6 separate regions of the Homo sapiens genome follow, and regions 1, 3, 4, 5 and 6 are each linked to region 2. Evidence: promoter capture Hi-C in human tissues and cell types (Jung and others, 2019). All regions are on one chromosome and are shown on one strand. The core of a region is centred on a gene start or on the middle of the fragment in contact, and the rest is flanking DNA. Distances in the headings are between cores, read along the strand shown. Region 1 overlaps KCTD16 (potassium channel tetramerization domain containing 16). Region 2 holds the start of PRELID2 (PRELI domain containing 2). Region 3 has its middle 320 kb from the start of KCTD16. Region 4 overlaps KCTD16 (potassium channel tetramerization domain containing 16). Region 5 overlaps KCTD16 (potassium channel tetramerization domain containing 16). Region 6 overlaps KCTD16 (potassium channel tetramerization domain containing 16).

Region 1 (3,011 bases), core at 411-2,910, 1.6 Mb after region 2:
AATAAGTCACATTAATAATGTGTACCCTTGATATGATGTGATGAAAATGACACTTTACATCTATGGTCTTCCTCCCAAATACCCATAACCCTAGTCTAATTATGAGAAAACATCAGCCAAAGGAGCCTAAGGAAATAAAATATTAAATGTAATATGTTATCCCAGATGGAATCTTGAAACAGGAAAAGGTCAGTAGGTAAAAACTAAACCTGAATACATTATGGACTTCAGTTAATAATAATTGCTATGATTTAGATATTTATCCCTTCCAAACCTCACGTTTGATCCCCAATATTAGAGATGGGCCCAATGGGAGGTCTTAGGTCATGGGGTTAGATCCCTCATGAATAGATTAATGCCTCTCCTTGGGCTTAAGTGAGTTCTGGTTCTATTTGTTCCTAGTTGTAAAAAGAGCCTGGAGCCTCCTCCTCCCCTTGCTTCCTCTATGACCATGCAATCTCTACACACATCAGCTCTCCTTTACCTTCAGCCATGAGTAGAGGCAGCCTGAAGCCCTCATCCAATGCATATACCCAATCATAAACTTTCCAACCAGCCAAATCATGAGCAAAATACACCTTTTTGTCTGTATAAATTACCCAGGCTTAAGTATTTCTTTATAGCAACACAAAATGGACTAAGACAATAACATACCAATATTAATACATTAATTAGTATTGACTGTATGAATTATATTGTCTGGTGAGATATAAAATGCACATAGAATAAAATATGTGACAACAATAACATATTAGTTGGGAACTTGGTAAAGGTGTTATACATAGGGAAAAAGTATATAATTTTCTATGGTTTGTGTTATTTATCCAATAATAGTAATAATAATATTTTATTACCATATGGTGAAATGCTTATCATTTTCTACAAAAAGACACTTGCTAAGAAGTACATCTTTTTATAGACAAGACTAACATGACCTCTGTCTGTACACTAGAATGTCAGTACATGGCCCCTAGATAATTAAGGAGTTCTTGGACTTAAAAATCCAAACAATGTGTCTTGCTTTAACATCTTTTCATACTTAAAAATAATAAGCTTAAAAACAAAACATTGCAAAAAGAGCTTCCCCTTCAAAAAAAATAAAATAAAATTAAGCCTCTTTCAGTTGTCAGCTTTGCTTCTGAATTTATAAATTTCAACTTACAAACAACTTTCAGAGAAAGTGAGTAAAGTAGGGTACACTTGTGCACTATTCCTTTCAAGAACAGAACGGGAGTCTTCAATTCTTAGCTACACCATGGTTGCCATTTTGTATCATAGATGTGGCACCAGTTAAATGAAGCAAGATATTGAAATGAGATTCTTTTCACATTTCATGAAACACAGGGATTTGTGTTGTTTTTTCCTAGGGGGTTAAGATTGAATGTAATATTTCAATCATACTTGAAAGAACATGAGTTAATTTTTCATAGCCACTAATCCACTCATTCAGAAATGATAATGCAAATGTTCAAATATTTATGCTTCATAGGCAAAATATGGTGCCCTGAATTACTGCATTGTGCTCTCTCCTAATGCTTACTTACAATTCATTTCAGATCAGGTAACCAGAAAATCACTGTATTCAACAGGGGAGTGATAGCAATAAAGTCTTTATACTTACAATCCTTTCATATTTATTCACATGCAAGACTTGTTTGCCTCCTTGAATACAATTAAAATATCCATCGAAGTCAGTGACTAAGGCAATAATATAAAATATTGTGCCTTTAATTGATCTGATTGCAATTTCCAGTCTACATTCTATGTAAAATCCAAAGGGTCTTGTGAGAAGAAGAGTGACTCTACTACAATGTTTTATTATTCCCAAACATGATGAGTGCTTTCAATGTAAACTTTCAACCTCACCCATCATGAAAGCTGTGTTTTCAACATTATTTTTCAATGCTTCTGAAAAATGTTTTGAGAACATGAGTAAAGTCAGGAATTGCATTACTTGGAGTGTTTTTTACTCACGTAGTGCCCTTCTTTCCAGTGTCATTATTCCCAGGGTATAGAAGCAGAAAATCAGATTCAGACTAAAGCTCAAGACACTTCGAGTGAGTTTAAGAGTTAAGAGGAGGACCTCAAGCACCATGCATGATTTCATAGAAGAATTCTGCCCTGTTCTACATTGTAGTAGCTTCCAAGCATGAAAGATATAATACAGGGAGGAGAGCTTGCCACCTCCCTCTTCAGTCCTGGTGTCTCGATCCCATCCTTGCTCACTTCAGAGATATACTTCTTGTATCTCCTCACCAGCCTAAACAATCTAAGAGCATTGAAGGATGTTTCAAAACCATACATTGTCATCAAGTACCCCTGGTATGAAGCACTGAGAAGAGCAAACCGCCTCCCTGGTATCTTGTTCAATAATTCATAATCTCAATATAATCTTAAGAAGACATCAGAAAAACCCAGATTGGAAGACATTGGAAAAAATAACTAACCAATAGTCTTCAGAAGTGTCAAGGTCCTGAGAGATAAGAAAATACTGGGGGACTTTCACAGATGGGAGGAGAGACTAAGGAGACGTGAGGATTAAATGCAATGTGGGAAAAATTGACAGGACTTTCTAACAGAAAGAGAATATTAGCGGAAACATTTGTGAAAATCAAGTTAAGTTGTATACTTTAGCTAATGTATTATACTGAGATTTAACTTCTCAGTTTTACTAAGTCCTCTGGTTGTACAAAATATTAACAAAAGAAGAGGCTGGATGAAGGGTAATACAGGGACTCTGTACTATTTTTTCAACTCTTCTGTTAGACTTACATTATCTCAAAATTTTAAAAAGTAAAAAAACAAAGAAAAAATACACACTGAAATGAAGAAAGAAAGGAATGAAGAAGAGAAAGAAGAAGGAATGAAAGAAGGAAGCACAATTCGAATTTAAAGAGATATCGGGAGGTTTCATAATTGCTGACTGATTCCTCAGGAGATTCCAGATACTCATTTGAAAGCATTCTGATGCAGTCAGAAAGTGACATAATATGGTGGCAAATGCCATGGAC
Region 2 (3,348 bases), core at 849-3,348:
ACAGGTGTGCACTGCCACACCTGGCTAATTTTTTATTTTATTTTTTGTAGAGATGGGGTTTCACTATGTTGCCTACACTGGCCTCAAACTCTTGGCCTCAAGTGATCCTTCTGCCTTGGCCTCCCAAAGTGCTGAGGTTACAGGCATGAACCATAGGAGCCTGGCCAAAGAGTAATAAACATTGAAAACTCATCCCTTCCTGCTACATTTTCCATTATTTATGTTTTTGGTTCTTTATGGCTGTCGTATGTGGGTGGTGGAAATACTATGTGATGGTGTGCTTCTGTGCTTCCCTCCCCAACTCCCACTCCTCACTCAACTCCATGTTGCTAAATCCCCAACTTGTGTTTAGTGACATCGAGTTGGCATCTTTAAACATGGTAGGAGTATTTACACCACAGGAATCAGCAACCTTTGGAAATCAGGGCCTTGCTTGATTTATACTTTAAAGGACAGCTATTTGTTAAACATTTTTCAGTTCACCTCAGGATTCAGTGGACAAATGGAGACACTGGTGCTAAAACAAAGTGCTGACAGTTCACCCACAGGAACAAGAGTGAAGGCAAGGCATTTGGTCTGGTGGGTAGAGAGGTGGCAGAGCGATGTGACCTATTGACTAAGTGAAAATGGAAGTAAGGTAATGACTGGAGTATAAGGCTGGGAACAAAGGTGTCAGAGGTGTGGAGGAATGCGGGAGAGTAAGTGGATTAGAGAAATTCAGTACTCTCTTTTTTTTTTTTTTTTGAGATGGAGTCTTGCTCTTGTCGCCTAGGCTGGAGTGCAATGGGCGAGCTCTGCTCACTGCAACCTCCGTCTCCCGGGTTCAAGCGATTCTCCTGCCTCAGCCTCCGGAGTAGCTGGGACTACAGGCGCCCGCCATCACGCCTGGCTAATTTTTGTATTTTTAGTAGGGACAGGGTTTCACCATGTTGGCCAGGCTGGTCTGGAACTCCGGACCTCAGGCGATCCGCCCACCTTGGCCTCCCAAAGTGCTGGGATTACAGGCGTGAGTCACCGCACCCAGCCAGAAATACAGTACTTTCATAGTGTATTTGTCTGGCACCATTAAAAGGCGCCATAGGGTTAGTGGTTATGAACTTAAAAGATGCACAGTGGGTGTGTATTTTCCTTCAGCCCCTTCTGGTGGCTTGGGTAGAGACAGTCAGAGGAGACCTAGATTTACACAAGGCTAGGGTTTTGCCAGACCAGTGTGACTGCGTATGGCAGGGGCGAGCGAGATGGCAAAATCGTAAAAGTCATCACCTCAGAGACCCTCCATAATCACCCTCACTAAAATCATGTCCGCGCCCGTGTCACTTTAACCGATTATTGTTTTTATTTTCCCAGCTTGTTGATTGGGTGTGAAATCAGCCGGCTCATCAGCAGAGCTGGTGTTTCCTCCCTGCGGAATCCGCAGTGCCCACTACAGCGCTGGGGCATAGGAGGCCTCAGAACCGTGCTGAATACACGGATTAACGTGCTGGTTCTCCTAACATCTGTTGGTTGCAGTAAATAATAATACTCGCAACTCTTTTGTATCCTCTAGTTCCTTGCTCCGTGGTGTTTAACCTTAGCGAGCAAAGGAACTTACCTGCAGGTTTTGGTGCACTAAAACGCGGTTCTTATTCCCGAGGCAATCTTTACCTTACACGAGGCCCAAACCCAAGCCTCAGAGGCAGCTGCCTGGTGGCATGAGTAATGCTGGCCTTTGTCACACCAGGCCTTCCTTATTAATACTTTTTTCCCGTGCTGCCAACCACGGCTTATTCTGTGACTCCAGGCGGTGATACCATAAACGCATAAGCCCAAGGTCCAGGTTTCCTGGGGCGGGGCGTGATGGCTCCCAGGCAGAGAAGCTTTTCTCGGCAGGCGCGGCCGCGGGAGGGCACCAGGGCCGCTCTGGCGCCGCCAGCGTGGAGACCGCGGGGCCCCGGGTGCTCTGGGAGCGCTCCAGCGCCTCCCGCGCTCTGTAACCCCAGGCCCCGGACTCTGGCAGTAGGGGCGTGGGCGTGGCCGACTGCGCGTTTCTCCGAGTGGCCAATAAAGTTTCGAAAGTTTGAAAAGCGGAGGAAAAAGGCCACGCCCATGTGGCTGTCCGAGTGTGGGCGCCTCCGGGCCTCTGCGGAGCCCTGGGCAGCTCTGAGCTCGCGGAGGCGTGGCCGGTGCGCGGGGCCCGCGGCGCGCGGGGATGGGGGTCTCGGTGGATGTGCACCAGGTGTACAAGTACCCCTTCGAGCAGGTGGTCGCCAGCTTTCTCCGAAAGGTACCGCCCCGCTTCCACCTTCCGTATCCCGCGCTGCCTCCGCTGCTTGCCCCTCTCTCCTCTCCTTCATCCACGCGGAAGCTGGCACCGCCAGTGTCTCTTTCCAGCTGCGGGCTTTGCTTCAGGGATGTGTGGGTCGAGAGGGATTTCCTCGAAGACTCCCTTTACAGGGAGCGGGAAAAGGGGCCGTGCTTGGCATCACGTTCACACCTGCCCCAGCTGAAAGAAGAGGCTTTCCTTTTAGGAAGAGCCTCCGGGAATCCCAGCTCGTGAGCTCCGTGGAGTTGCAGATGACCGACGTGTGGAGCTTTCCGGTTCATCACTGACCCCTTAAAAGCGAGGGGAGGCCATTGGGCAGTCATCCTGGTTTACTCAGCATGATGGTTCTGCTGCCCCATCCGCTGCTCCTTATTAAACAGCTGTGGGACATCGTGCAGGTTGCTTACTCTCTTTGTGCCTTAGTTTGCTAATCTGTAAAATGGGGAAAATAATAGTACCGACTCATAGAGTTGTTGTGAGGATCCAAATGAGGTAACTTGTGTAAAGTGCTTAGCACAGTTGTGACCTAAATGAAGAAACTGAGGCAAAATCAATATAAAAAGAGAGTTCATTCGAGCCAAGTTTGAGGGCTGCATCCTGGGAGTGAAGGTGCCCTGAGTATACATTCTGATGAGCAGAAGTCGAAAGTGGGTTTTTAAAGGAGAATAAGAAGCACTTCCTAAGTTGTTTACCAAGAATTTATATTAAAATAACATAAACTATTGATTGTCTGTACATTGTTCTTTGTATCACAAATTCCAGGAACTTGAAGATAATGGGTAAGGCAGCTGGTCAGGAACAAAATGCCTTTAACCAGTTGCTCCCAGGAATGGGTTGGGTGAGGAGGGGACCACTAAAGTCCTATACTCTTGTCTCTCTGGGCTTGATTGATTTTGCATATTTCACTGTAACTCACACAATCTGCTCTGAGCTATTTTTCTTTTTCTCACTGCTACTGATGTTTAGTTAGGGCTCTAAAATGTTATTGTTGTTTGTATTACTACAACCGATTTCAATACAGATAATGAACTCTTCCTCAATACTGA
Region 3 (3,344 bases), core at 488-2,987, 1.3 Mb after region 2:
GATGGGATTTGTATAGGCTGTATGTCATAAAACAGTAAACAATCAATTTTTCCTATTCAAACAAGAAGACACCCTTTTTCCTTGTATGTTTTTGTCTTTGGTTGCTATTTACTTATTAAAAAAAGAGTACCACAAAATATGGGAAACAGCTGATATTAACATGTTTGTATATTATTTTGGCTAATTTTTAATCTGCTATATTTCCAGCACTTCCTCAAAGCATCATAAATAGCAATGTAAGATATTCTATAGTTGTACAGACCTACGAGAAGTTATGTTATAGAAAATAACTAAGAGGAAAATGATGCAGTCCTTTCTAAGTCCCCAACTGTTGCTTCAGCTTTCAGAAACTATAGATGAATGAGAATACACACTGCAAACCTCAAGGTGCCAGAGGACATTGTGAACATCATTGCACTATGAGCATAAAGCCTGGGCTTTGCAAAGAGACCTGCAGGTAGCAGCTCCCTAAAGAGTAGATCAAGTTAATTACCATGTTATTCATTTACTCTATCAGGAAAAAAATCTCTTATGCCTCAGGTACACAAAACTGATTATTATTAACATCTTTTTCCCTCCTCACACTCTCTCACATTTGTTAATATCAGGTGACAGAGAGACCAGGACATCCATCTCCTTAATGAAAAAAAAACAAACAAACTGACAGTCTATTATTTCTAGGTACTAAGGGCCACTCTTTCCCAGGGGCAAAGGGAGAAAGAATGATTTGCTGCTAACTGTGTGGCTTCTCTGTCTAACTCCAATAAGTTCACTACTTTCTCACCATTTCCAATCCCTTCCCGTCTATCCATGTTAAAGACAAAACAGAAATTCATGCTGGACTTTCTGGAGCAAAGGGTGCAAGCTCTGGTTAAGGCAGAAAATGAGTCATTAAACTGGGGCATATGTGGAAATTAGCAGGGAAAGGTCTTGGGTTCCCACTTCATCCCCAGGGAAGAAACAGTTAAGGTAGCTCACCCATTTGCAATAGCTTTAGGACCACAGACCACAGTCCACCAGCATTCAACTCACCTTCTCCTTGTCTTTCATTTCCTCCTAGATAGACTTGCTGTTTTCTCTCAAAGACAATCTAAAACGGTCAATATTTGGGACCCACCAAATCCTCCCCACCTCCACCTCTTCCTTCAAATAGGAGACCAGCCAGAGCTGAGGTAAAAATCAGTTGAGAAAGGGATGGCAAAATGGTGCAAAAAATATATCTCCTTCAATGTCCCCAATCACAGACTAGATGAAGAAATTGAGGCTTCAAGGAAAGCGTATGGTGGGGGAAAGGGGCACTGTTAGATAAAGGATGCTGTGATTTATTAAATATGTTTACCCTATACTCCAGACGCGTGAAGAACAAACAGAATAAAAAGAGAGGGAAAGAAATGTATAGAAAAAAAGTAGAACATTCAGGGAGGATGGAGAGGAGAAAAGCTTTATTTGTATCAAAGGTACCTATGTGTCTGTGATTTTGTCTCTTGGAGACATCCTATTTAATTGCTGCATATCCATCAGGAAGCAGACAGCCTTGAAGAGCATGTTTGAACTCAGACCTATCCACAGAGGAAGAGCAATACCATTTCAATATACTAGCTATCTTCCAGTTATGTAGGGTGTTTTTGTTTCTTGCTACCCTAAAGATAGCAAGACTCACATGGTGAGTCAGAAGAAAGAGAAAAACAAGTCAAAGACTGAGTTTAGTCCTCAGAATTTATTTTTGGTGCTTTCATAACATGGTAATAAGAATAAGCAAGGGGTTTATGGGGTGTGCCTGGAGCTCTTTGGCAATCTTAGCATTTGAAAACCCTGCCCTCCTCCTGGGCCTTTGTTGCTGACCTATTGATTTTTTTAAGCTCTGCAACATGAGGCTGGCTTACTGAAGGCTGAAGCTGCTCTGCCTGGCTAAGGGTTTTTATCATCCCCTTATTGAAATGAAGACTTATCATGACCTGTTTCAGTGGCAGCTGCCATTTGGGACAAGATTGATGTGGGCTCTGAATATTTTTTTAGTCATGGGAAGGAATGCTGCCTTTGGGTTGAAATTGGAGGGAAGAAGTATTGTCTAAGCAGTTCGTATTTTTTCCTTTTTCACTGTCCTCGTTGCAAAAATTATGATCCTTCTGATCAAGTCCTGTTCAATTCAATTTATCAGAAGGGTGAGTTTTTGATCAGTGGCTGTGTACAAATCTCCCCAAATCTCTCCAGAGATCTCAAGAGGAGTCTTTCTCCTGATCTACTACCAGTGCTTTCCTGGGCTCCCCATACACCCTTTTTCCACCCATGCTCCCCAGCAAGTAGAGAGAGCCCCCTTGTGTCCTCACCACCCACATCGCAGAATCTTTAGGGAGTGTTCTCAGGACCCTTGATTTTTGGGGGAAACTAGCTGCTGTTCTGGGCAGAACAATGGTGACAAATAAATTCCTTCCTGCTGTTCATTCTGTAAGTCTGCAGCCAACTTTTTCTCTTAATGTTGGTTCTTTACTTGTCTATGTCATTCTGGAACAGTGGAGGCATAGACTTTCCCTGTGCCTAAATTTAATGAAGTTTTGGCTCTATTTAAGCAATTTCTAAGGCTTTGGAGGTCATTAACTTCACAAATCTCCATCACAGTTGCTTTCTCTCTCTCAAGTTTTCAGAGGAAAGCCCACAGCTTTCCACAAAAGAATTCATGGGAAAACTTTTTCTCCAAACCCCTCCATCACTTCAGTCTGTCTAAGCTTCCATCCCTCTTGTGGACTGAAATTCAGCACGGTACAGCATCCTTGTAGCCACTATTGCTAAGGATCAGCTTATTGAGGCAAAATAGACTATCTCATTCCTAAGTGACTTCAGTGGTAACAGAGTTTTAAGGAGGATTACTGTAGACTAGATCCTCACCTTCTCCTGCTTGGCCTTCTGTACCTTGTGGGACTTTTTACTTTGGGTCCATGCAGTATGGATATTGTGACTTTAGAATAGTTTCTCAAGACAAAGCTGTAACTGTTATCTCACTTACATGAGATAGCATATGAGAAGTGTCCTAGCTTGATTCCACAGATGCAGTTCTAGACCCAGAACCATCTCTTCCTCTCTGGGTCTTAACTTTCCCTTTCTGTACAAGAAATACAAGGAAGGGAATGGGTTAAATAAACATTTCCCAAAGTGTGTTTCTCAAAACCGGAAGAAAGTTTGGTGAGACCAGTCTGGGAGATTCTGGGTTAAAGTTTGAAAGTTTTTGTTTTGTTTTGTTTTGTTTTCACTGCAAAACTCCCAGGACTTTAAATATAATAAAGAGCATTTTAAAAGTGCAAGGTGGAAAGTGTAAAAGAGATTACATCTCTCAAACTGTACGTTGCCCA
Region 4 (3,301 bases), core at 681-3,180, 1.4 Mb after region 2:
TTGAACTCTGGATTTTTTTTCCCGATTAATAATAAATAATTGGTTCTATATAATCTTTGACCCTTAAAAAGTGAAAAAATTAATGAAATCAGTAGAAATGCTAGCTCTGCTTCTTACTAGAGTTGTGTCCTTAGGCAAATTACTAAACAGCTCTGACACTAGACCTTGTGATTAGTTAAAAAGGGGGAAGGGGCTCTAAAAAACTCTTCAATGATAGGGTTGTTGCTAAAGTGCCTACCCCTTATAGGCTGGACAGTAGAGCTGTGTCCACCTGGCAGCAAAGCTCCTATTGGGCCATTTTCTAAGTGGCATAGAAACCCATTTTGAAAGCTACACCTACAAAGTCATTCATGTAAGTGACATAAATTCTCACACTCCTGAGTTCCCTAATCCCTCAGATCTCAATAGAGACCTCCCTGCCTAGCCTGGGGCTTATGCACAACTCCAACACTTAGAGGGTGGTTAATTTCTTTTCCAGGAAAGCAAAAGAGTACCTGATTCTTTCTTTATGCTTTAAGTAAGTTGAGAAGCATCATTACTCCTTACAATGAAAAATTATTACCCTTGGGTATTAGTTCTAGTGTGGAGGAAGGAACTCAGGCTTAGGTTCAGAAAACCAGAGCTTGAACTTTGACTTCACTATTAAATATGTGACCTTGAATGACTTATTTTTTCTCAAAAAAGGAGCTCCTTCATCTATAAAATGGAGAAAACAAAAATACCACCACCATGAGGTTGTGAGAAAATGATAAAGACACTATACATGAAAGTGCTTTGGGTCGGGCACAGTGGCTCATGCCTGTAATCCCAACATTTTGGGAGTCTGAAGCAGAAGATCACTTGAGCCCAGGAGTTCAAGAGCAGCCTCGGCAACAAAGTGAGACTCTGTCTCTCAAAAAAAAAAAAAAAAAAAAATTAAATTAGCCTGGTGAGGTGGCGCATGCCTGTAGTCACAGCTACTTGGGAAGCTGGGGTGGGAGGATCTCTTGAGCCTGGGAGACTGAGGCTGCAGTGAGCCATGAACCAGCCACTGCACTGTACCCCAACAGAGGAGGATTGTGTCTCAAAAAAAAAAAGTGCTTTGTAATTGGTAAAGGGCTCTACAGATGTAAGCTATTTTAGTTGGGTGAGCCTGGAGTTGTCTTTTACAACAACAATAATACCACTTTAAAGCTTACCAAGTACTCTCATGTGCATTAGCACATTCAGACTGATGGAGCCTGAGTTGTTATTGTTAGTTCTGAGTCTTTGAGGAATGGCTGTTTTTTTTGTTTTGTTTGTTTTTTTGTTTTACCAAATAAACCATCAAAGCACTCTGGAATGTGCCAATTTTCATTCTTTTTTTCTTCACCTACATGCATTAACTAAGCGTCTCTTATAAGCAGTGCATTAAGCTAAGAAATTCAGGGAATATAAAAAGATGGAAATGTGTTCCCTGTCATTGCAGACATACATATTTGTTCACTTAGTAAATATGTATTGAGTATTTACAATGGACTGCACAGTCATGAGCATATACAGAGTCTAAAGTAGGAACTGTACAAATGAAAGAGAGAGAAAGAGAGAACAAATGTGACCATAGTACCACAGTACTATCCACAGTACTACCCATAGAGTGGTCAATAACTACCTAAAAAATATACCAGTCTTAAATGACCAATCATCAGTATTTTGACAATGCCTAGAAATCTCAAGAAACTCCTCTTGCTACTAACTTTATGAAAGTATTTGGGGTTCCCTGGAATTGGTTACTGTGCAACTGGGATGCTTTAGTGATGGAGCTGCCATTCGGAAGGCATGAAGTACACACCCTAGCTACACTCAGTTCACAACAGAGGGCCCTTTCCAATCAACTGAGAGGGCAAGTCAATAGTTATTGAGCTCTGTAGAAAAGAAGAGATTAAAGATTATTTGCCTTGCTCTTAACTTAGTTTTTCTGCCAATCTAATACACGTATCTGTTTTATCATATCCTGTCTTTACACATTTCTGGAAATAATATCTCTGAGTGGCAACAAGCTTACATGAAAAACATAAGAACAATATTTTAAATCCCAAGCAATGATTACTAGATAGCTCAGCCTCACTCTCTACCATGAATATTTTTAATGAAGAGTAGATGGCATGTGAAACTTTTAAAAGGCAATCTTGATGCCTTTTAAAAATAGACGTTAATATTAGGTCCTGTTAGGCCAAAAAGGAAGTGGTAAGGAACCACTTCTTTTTTTAAGGGACCACCCCTCCTCCCCACAAGACACACATACTCTTAAATGATTTGAATGGGACCAACATATCTGTGCAGCATGAGCCCTACTTACAAAGCAGTTTATTGGTCCAGAGGCAGACATATACATTTTTGCAAATTTGGGATTGGAACCAAGAGTTGACTCAGTCTTTCCAGATGGCTGGACAAGTAATACATGAACTTGAAAGCTTATAGTGGCCATATTTTCTATTGTGAGAAGGGGAAGCAAAGAAAATTGTCCTATAGTAATGGAGTGACAATGAAGCAACATCTGGGGGAAAATATTTCATGTGAAAAAGAAATATGGTCCATATTTGGTCCCTTCCACCCACTGTCAATGAAGAAACCACTCAGAAGAAGTAGAAGTGGATGTGAAGGACATGAAAAATAAATCCCCATGGCTTGGCCCCAAGCATGTTACTGAAGACTATTTAAAATTAAATATAAAAATACAAGTAACAAATGCATATGTCATGTTCTTGGTTATATTTTTATTATCAATGATTTGTGGACATTATGCAACAATGCTATCTTCACTGAAGTCATCAGCATCTACGAGTAAACAAAAATATATTTTTCTGAATTTTTGTGCCTTATATTTTATTGAGAGGTTATAGCCTGAATGGAAATTTTCCTTTAGTGACAGCTATAATAGAGGAAAATAGTTTTCGCTCATATATTATTATCTTACAATGAAGTGTGAAGGAAATTATGATTTATGACTTTGCTGATTGTTTATTCCAGCTGCAGACATTATCCCCTTTAGCCAAAATACAGGCCATAATGTCCCACTTATTTGAATGTCAGACTTCCAACAGTGAGTCCAAAAGGGAACGAGCTTCTAAACATCCAAAATAAATATCACAAAATGTATGCACTTCATTACATGAAAGGGGTCATCCTACAGATTATATTGACTCTTCCTTACATGCTATTTTATACTCTTAATTACCTACTTATCCATCCTAAAACTTTAAAGAATAGCCAAGTGACCATCATTAGGAAACAAAAGCTAGAAGCCAGAAATAAGACCCTAAAAATTGTCCAATATTACCAC
Region 5 (3,267 bases), core at 411-2,910, 1.5 Mb after region 2:
TCCAATATCTCTCAGTAGATCGCCCTAGCATTTTGCCACTGGACGGTGCAAGTCATTATTCTGCCTCATCCCCAATCATGTCTCCATTACTTTCCTTTGAACTCACTTCTTCCATATAATGTTTTTACTCACAGACAGAAAGGAAACTGCTTTATACCCTCAATGAAAAAATGCAACCTGTCTGTGAAGCGTAATTAAGCCAAATACTTTCCTTCTCTTCTCCAGGCTGATCAATTCAAATTCTTTTAGGCTTTCCTCCGAAGAAACAATTTCCCATTCCCTTAACCTCTAGGTGCTTCCCAGATTCTTCATATCCCTTTTAAGGGCCACTGACCACATCTGGACTCCCCTGGAATGAGAGTCAGACTAAAGCTAAGTGCAGCAGAAAGATGACTTATTGCTGCTATGTCACATGTGCTTCATGCTGCACTTCAGGATCACACTGTCCTTTCCTTTCCCCACAGCACTATTACCCACACTGGCTCATCGCAGTCAACTTGGATTTAACTATGACACCCTGGTCTTTTTTTATTCTATCTAAAATAAGTGAATTTTTATCCTCACATGATTTACTTGTTTCTTTTTTCTTTACTATAAGACATTTCTTTTAGGTCTTTCATTTCCTCTTTTTATTTGAATATTTTTGTAGAGCCAGAAAATGTATACCTAAAGAAGGGGAGGAGTTTAGATTATATAAACGGGAGTGGTAAAATGGCAATTATGGGCCAAAAAGTGTCATAGATGTATATTCTGTGCCAGGATATCTTTAAGTGTGTTTAAGGCTGTGACATCTATAGGCCAGGTTGATATGCACTCTCCAATGACCACAGAACTAATTCCTGTCTTTTGTCTTAAACTCTTTTCCAGGCCTCTAATGGCATTTAAGTTTGAACTCCCAAATCCAACCAACTTATGAAACAGAAGGTGAAGGCAGGAGAGGAGAAATGACCTCCCCAGCCTCACAGAGCCACTTACTGGAGAGCCTGAGCCCCAACCTGGATCTCCTCATTTCCCACCCCCACCTAGTCCTTGCATTATCATATTTGTTGTTTCCTTATAGTGGCCTGAAAAATAAAGAGTTGATAATGAAGAGTTTTAGATGTTTTAAATGATATTTCTGATAACAACTAAACAGGTGCAGGTCACTCTGAGATAATGAGCACAAAAAGCTTAATCATGTTTGAAACTTTTGACAAGAGACTGAACCTTTGGTCATTTCCATTGCTCTTGCCACACAAAAGCCAAGGGTTCTATTTCCATCTCTGAACAACCCAGCCCAACCTCAAGGTCCTAAAGAATCTTAAAAGTGCTGTACTTGATCTTTAACAAATCATAAAAGATTTTACAGAGATCTCACAAGCCTATAAAGCTATTCATCTTTGTTCCTAAGTCTAGAAAAAGAATCACTTCCCCAGCTTAGGTAATTAAGAGTCAGCTGAAACATAGAGGGCTTGCATATGAAGTGATATAATTCTAATAACACTTGCAGAAAACATGAGTTAACTAGAGACAGCCAGCCACCCTACTGTGTAAAGAAAATTTGACTGCATTTGGAGGTCTTCTGTCCTTGACACGTCTATCAAGATTGCTAATGGCCAGCAAACCACAGGCCTTTTGAAAGGAGGCACTAACGCTCTAATAATGTCAATTATACAACCAAACACTCAACAAAACAGAAGAGAGGAAAGACTGGATGAATGATCGATAGAGGTAATTAGATTTCCCTGTACAATATAGAAATGATTTCCATATTCCACAATATCCTGCTGCTCATTCTATAGGCTGCATTTCTTTTCCACTGCTTACAGCCAACCCAAAGGGATCCAAGTTTAAAGAGACAGAACAATGAGGAAAGAAGAGGCCAAGTGGGCTTTTTAATCATTCTGTCCATATCAAATTATTAAAAACTGTTTTCATCACATACAACTGTGGCATAATCTCTCATGCAATTTGAAAACATTCTATACACTAGAGCAACTGATTTTTCCAAGGATGTTGAATGTCAGAGCTAGAATCAGAAAAACAGGGTGTTTTACAGTTAAGTTATTCTTTCTTTGATACTGTATTTGACGTACGATAATAAGTATTCAGGAAGCTAAAAGTCATTTGGGCTGATTCTAACCAGAAAGAAAAATCAGTGGGTGAAGATTTATAAATTTGTTAACAAGTCTAGATATAGCCAGGGATGAGTGAAGCTGCAACCTAGAAAAGCAATCATACTTGAAGTCTGTAGTTCTTCTGTACCAAAGATAGAACCCAAAGTCATGGTTGAACACCATCTTCTACCACCTGCCATAAAATCCTCCTTTGTTTTTGTCTTTCATATTTCACTTCATTCAAAAATATTTATTACACACTTACTGTGACAACATATATTCTTGTTTTAAACTTATTTCTCTTTCTCCTTTTGTTTCTTTTCATTTTTTTCTTCTCCCTGACACCTGCCCAGAGTACTTTGAAATTCATAAAGTGATACTATTAAGCTTGAAGACACTTGACCACTGTGCAGTGCTAAACCTGCCTGTCTCTTCACTTTTTATAATGATCACCTATGAATGTGCTCTGGGGTCAGAAAAGCTGGGTTTGAAGCTCTACTGCCTCTAGCTATTTGCTCTTGGGCAAGTCACTTAAACTATCTTCACCACAATCTTCTCATTTTTAAAAGGGGATAGTAATAAAACCTAATTTTTACATAAAACTTACTTAATTTTGCGTAAAATTTAAAAAAGAAAATATCCCAAAACTATTTAGAAGAGTGACTGCCACAGAATAAGTATTCAATAACTGAAATCTGTCATTATCATTAGAAACAATAAAATAAAATAAACATGAAATAAAATTCTTCTTCTGAATTTTCTTGTTTCCACTTTCATGAATCCTAAAAGTATCTAAAACATCAAAAGCTACTATGTTGAAGAACCAAAAATACAAGATTTTGGATGGGCAAACTGCTGAGCACTTGGTTGCTAAGGGAAGCATCAAGACACTTTTTTGTTCATGGGTTGATTAGCAAAGTGGTAATTTCCATGTTGTTAAAAATGACAGAGCGTTACCAAAGATATCCTGTTCACTATGTCGAGACGGCATTGTGCAAGTGAATTTTTAAAGTAGAGATGGATTCTTAATCCATTCTTAAGGCAAGAATTTTCCAAGCACCTACTATATACATAGAATTTCGCTAGAAACAAAGAAAGATATAAGCACAACAAAAATTATGTTTAACACAAGGAGCTTAGAGTTTTGCTGAGGAGTCAGGGCATACACACT
Region 6 (3,113 bases), core at 125-2,624, 1.6 Mb after region 2:
TAAAGTACGCAGCCTAGGATCAAAAAAAAAAACAAAAAATGTACTTCACACTTTCATCCAGCATTGCAGTTTACAGGACTTGGATAAGGGATTTGTTTTAATCTGTTTGGCTAGGACCTAGGATCTACACACCATAACGGTACAATTATTACACAAGTCAGGAAGATCCAAATGTACCCATATCTTGGATGTATGATACTGAACTGTATAAAAATATAGGGCTGATGCTACCATTCTATTAAAACCTATTTTTCATTTTATCTTCTTTATTTCTTTACTAGCTTATTAGCTACATATCTGTGTTTTGTTACTTTAATGATGTCTTTAGAATTTATAGTACATATTTTTAACTTTCTACTATCTACTTTTTTATACATATATTATTTTTATTATACTTTAAGTTCTAGGGTACGTGTGCACAATGTGCAGGTTTGTTACATATGTATACATGTGCCATGTTGGTGTGCTGCACCCATTAACTCGTCATTTACATTAGGTATATCTCCTAATGCTATCCCTCCCCGCTCCCCCGACCCCACAACAGACCCTGGTGTGTGATGTTCCCCTTCCTGTGTCCAAGTGTTCTCATTGTTCAATTCCCACCTATGAGTGAGAACATGCGGTGTTTGGTTTTTTTGTCCTTGCGATAGTTTGCTGAGCATGATGGTTTCCAGCTTCATCCATGTCCCTACAAAAGACATGAACTCATCCTTTTTTACAGCTGCATAGTGTTCCATGCTGTATATGTGCCCCATTTTCTTAATCCAGTCTATCATTGTTGGACATTTGGGTTGGTTCCAAGTCTTTGCTATTGTGAACAGCGCCGCAGTAAACATACGTGTGCATGTGTCTTTATAGCAGCATGATTTATAATCCTTTGGGTATATACCCAGTAATGGGATGGCTGGGTCAAATGGTATTTCTAGTTCTGGATATTTGAGGAATCGCTACGCTGTCTTCCACAATGGTTGAACTAGTTTACAGTCCCACCAACAGTGTAAAAGTGTTCCTATTTCTCCACATCCTCTCCAGCACCTGTCGTTTCCTGACTTTTTAATGATCGCCATTCTAACTGGTGTGAGATGGTATCTCATTGTGGTTTTGATTTGCATTTCTCTGATGGCCAGCAATGATGAGCATTTTTTCATGTGTCTGTTGGCGGCATAAATGTCTTCTTTTGAGAAGTGTATGTCTACTTCTAAGTGATATTATGCCGCTTTGTGCACATAGGAATCTTACAATGGCATATCCTCATTTATCTGCTCCAGGCCCTTGGATTATAGTTGTTATGCATCTTACTTTAATGTTGAATACCCCACACCACATTATTACTTTTTCTTTAATCGCTAGTCTTATAATAATTTAAATAATAGAAATGTATTTGCCCATTAAAATACTTATTTTTTATTTTGACCATTGATATATAAATGCTTTTGCAACTCTCTAAAAAAAGCAGTTAGAACTGGCAACCTACAGAATGGGAGAACATTTTTGCAATCTATCCATTGACAAAAGGCTAATACCCAGAATGTACAAAGAACTTTAAAAAATTCACAAGAAAAAAACAAACAACCCCATCAAAAAATGGGCAAAGGTGAACAGACACTTCTCAAAAGAAGATATTTATGCGGTCAACAAACATATGAAAAAAAGCTCATCATCACTGGTCATTAGAGAAATGCAAATCAAAACCACAATGAGATACCATCTCACGCCAGTTAGAATGGCAATCATTAAAAAGTCAGGAAACAACAGGTGCTGGGGAGGATGTGGAGAAATAGGAACACTTTTACACTGTTGATGGGAGTGTAAATTAGTTCAACCATTGTGGAAGACAGTGTGGGGATTCCTCAAGGATCAAGAACCAGAAATACCATTTGACGCAGCAATCCCATTACTGGGTATATACCCAAAGGATTATAAATCATCCTACTCTAAAGACACATGCACACGTATGTTTATTACAGTACCGTTCACAATAGCAAAGACTTCAAACCAACCCAAATGCCCATCAATAATAGACTGGATAAAGAAATGTGGCACATATACACCATGGAATACTATGCAGCCATAAAAAGGGATGAATTCATGTCCTTTGCAGGGACACGGATGAAGCTGGAAACCATCATTCTCAGCAAACTAACACAAGAACAGAAAACCAAACACTGCATGTTCTCACTCATAAGTGAGAGTTGAACAATGAGAACACATGGACACAGAGAAAGGATCATCACACACTGGGGCCTGTCAGGGGGTGGGGGGCAAGGGGAGTCATAACATTAGGAGAAATACCTAATGTAGGTGATGGGATGATGGGTGCAGCAAACCACCATGGCATGTGTATACCTATGTAACAAACCTGCACGTTCTGCACATGTATCCCAGAACTTAAAGTATAATAATAATAATACTAAAGCAGATTTAATGTCTCTCTTCTTCATTACGCATCCTTAAGACATTCTCTAGATGTTCACTCAAGCTAATATAAAATCTGCCTTAATAGCAGACATCTAATAAGCAACATGGCCACTTTACATATGTGGTATTATTTGCTACTCAGTGTCTTACAATGCAGTTACATAGATCTACCATTCCTGTCATACAACGGAGGTACCTAAGGAATCTGACTTAGCAAAGTGACTTTGCCCACTCCTGTCCACATCTCTTAACCTCTTTCTCAAGGTTCAAGTTGCCCTTTTCTTTTTTATCTTTCACTCATTTCTTCTTCTTTTTTTTTTTTGAGACGTAGTCTCGCTCTGTCGCCCAGGCTGGAGTGCAGTGGCGTGATCTCGGCTCACTGCAACCTCCGTCTCCTGCGTTCATGCCATTCTCCTGCCTCAGCCTCCCAGGTAGCTGGGACTACAGGTGCCCGCCACCACGCCCGGCTAATTTTTTATATTTTTAGTAGAGACGGGGTTTCACCGTGTTAGCCAGGATGGTCTCGATCTCCTGACCTAGTGATCCACCCGCCTCGGCCTCCCAAAGTGCTGGGATTACAGGCGTGAGCCACTGCACCTGGCCCTTTTCATTCATTTCTATAAGAAGCCAGCTATTATATACACCTACATACATGTATATAGTAAGTGTGTATGTATAAACACACACACACACAC

Evidence for each region. The method cuts DNA at HindIII sites, captures the fragments that hold promoters and counts their contacts. A contact is called where the count stands out against the background at its distance.
Region 1: a contact is called between a fragment that was not itself captured here and the fragment with the promoter of PRELID2 in region 2, in 2 of the 25 tissues and cell types used here (dorsolateral prefrontal cortex and lymphoblastoid cells).
Region 3: a contact is called between a fragment that was not itself captured here and the fragment with the promoter of PRELID2 in region 2, in 1 of the 25 tissues and cell types used here (dorsolateral prefrontal cortex).
Region 4: a contact is called between a fragment that was not itself captured here and the fragment with the promoter of PRELID2 in region 2, in 1 of the 25 tissues and cell types used here (dorsolateral prefrontal cortex).
Region 5: a fragment that was not itself captured here is called in contact with the fragment with the promoter of PRELID2 in region 2 in 1 of the 25 tissues and cell types used here (dorsolateral prefrontal cortex).
Region 6: a fragment that was not itself captured here is called in contact with the fragment with the promoter of PRELID2 in region 2 in 2 of the 25 tissues and cell types used here (dorsolateral prefrontal cortex and mesenchymal stem cells).

What each region holds. Positions count from the first base shown.
Region 1 is chr5:144,240,182-144,243,192 of GRCh38, reverse strand. All of the region lies in intron 3 of KCTD16 (potassium channel tetramerization domain containing 16), which reads right to left. Among named protein-coding and RNA genes, the nearest start is that of KCTD16, 71 kb to the right of the region's middle. The HindIII fragment of the contact is 5,226 bases long and covers 1-3,011 here.
Region 2 is chr5:145,834,092-145,837,439 of GRCh38, reverse strand. PRELID2 (PRELI domain containing 2) reads left to right here and starts at 2,098. Exons shown (of 7, transcript NM_205846.3): 1 at 2,098-2,263. The coding sequence starts at 2,189. RefSeq lists a silencer at 1,787-1,906. The HindIII fragment of the contact is 8,273 bases long and covers 1-3,348 here.
Region 3 is chr5:144,486,373-144,489,716 of GRCh38, reverse strand. No RefSeq gene overlaps it. Among named protein-coding and RNA genes, the nearest start is that of KCTD16, 320 kb to the right of the region's middle. RefSeq lists an enhancer at 1,563-2,064. The HindIII fragment of the contact is 6,518 bases long and covers 1-3,344 here.
Region 4 is chr5:144,384,753-144,388,053 of GRCh38, reverse strand. The region is part of intron 3 of KCTD16 (potassium channel tetramerization domain containing 16); the gene reads right to left. Among named protein-coding and RNA genes, the nearest start is that of KCTD16, 220 kb to the right of the region's middle. The HindIII fragment of the contact is 3,150 bases long and covers 356-3,301 here.
Region 5 is chr5:144,301,452-144,304,718 of GRCh38, reverse strand. The region is part of intron 3 of KCTD16 (potassium channel tetramerization domain containing 16); the gene reads right to left. Among named protein-coding and RNA genes, the nearest start is that of KCTD16, 130 kb to the right of the region's middle. The HindIII fragment of the contact is 5,492 bases long and covers 1-3,267 here.
Region 6 is chr5:144,220,568-144,223,680 of GRCh38, reverse strand. All of the region lies in intron 3 of KCTD16 (potassium channel tetramerization domain containing 16), which reads right to left. Among named protein-coding and RNA genes, the nearest start is that of KCTD16, 51 kb to the right of the region's middle. The HindIII fragment of the contact is 5,124 bases long and covers 1-3,113 here.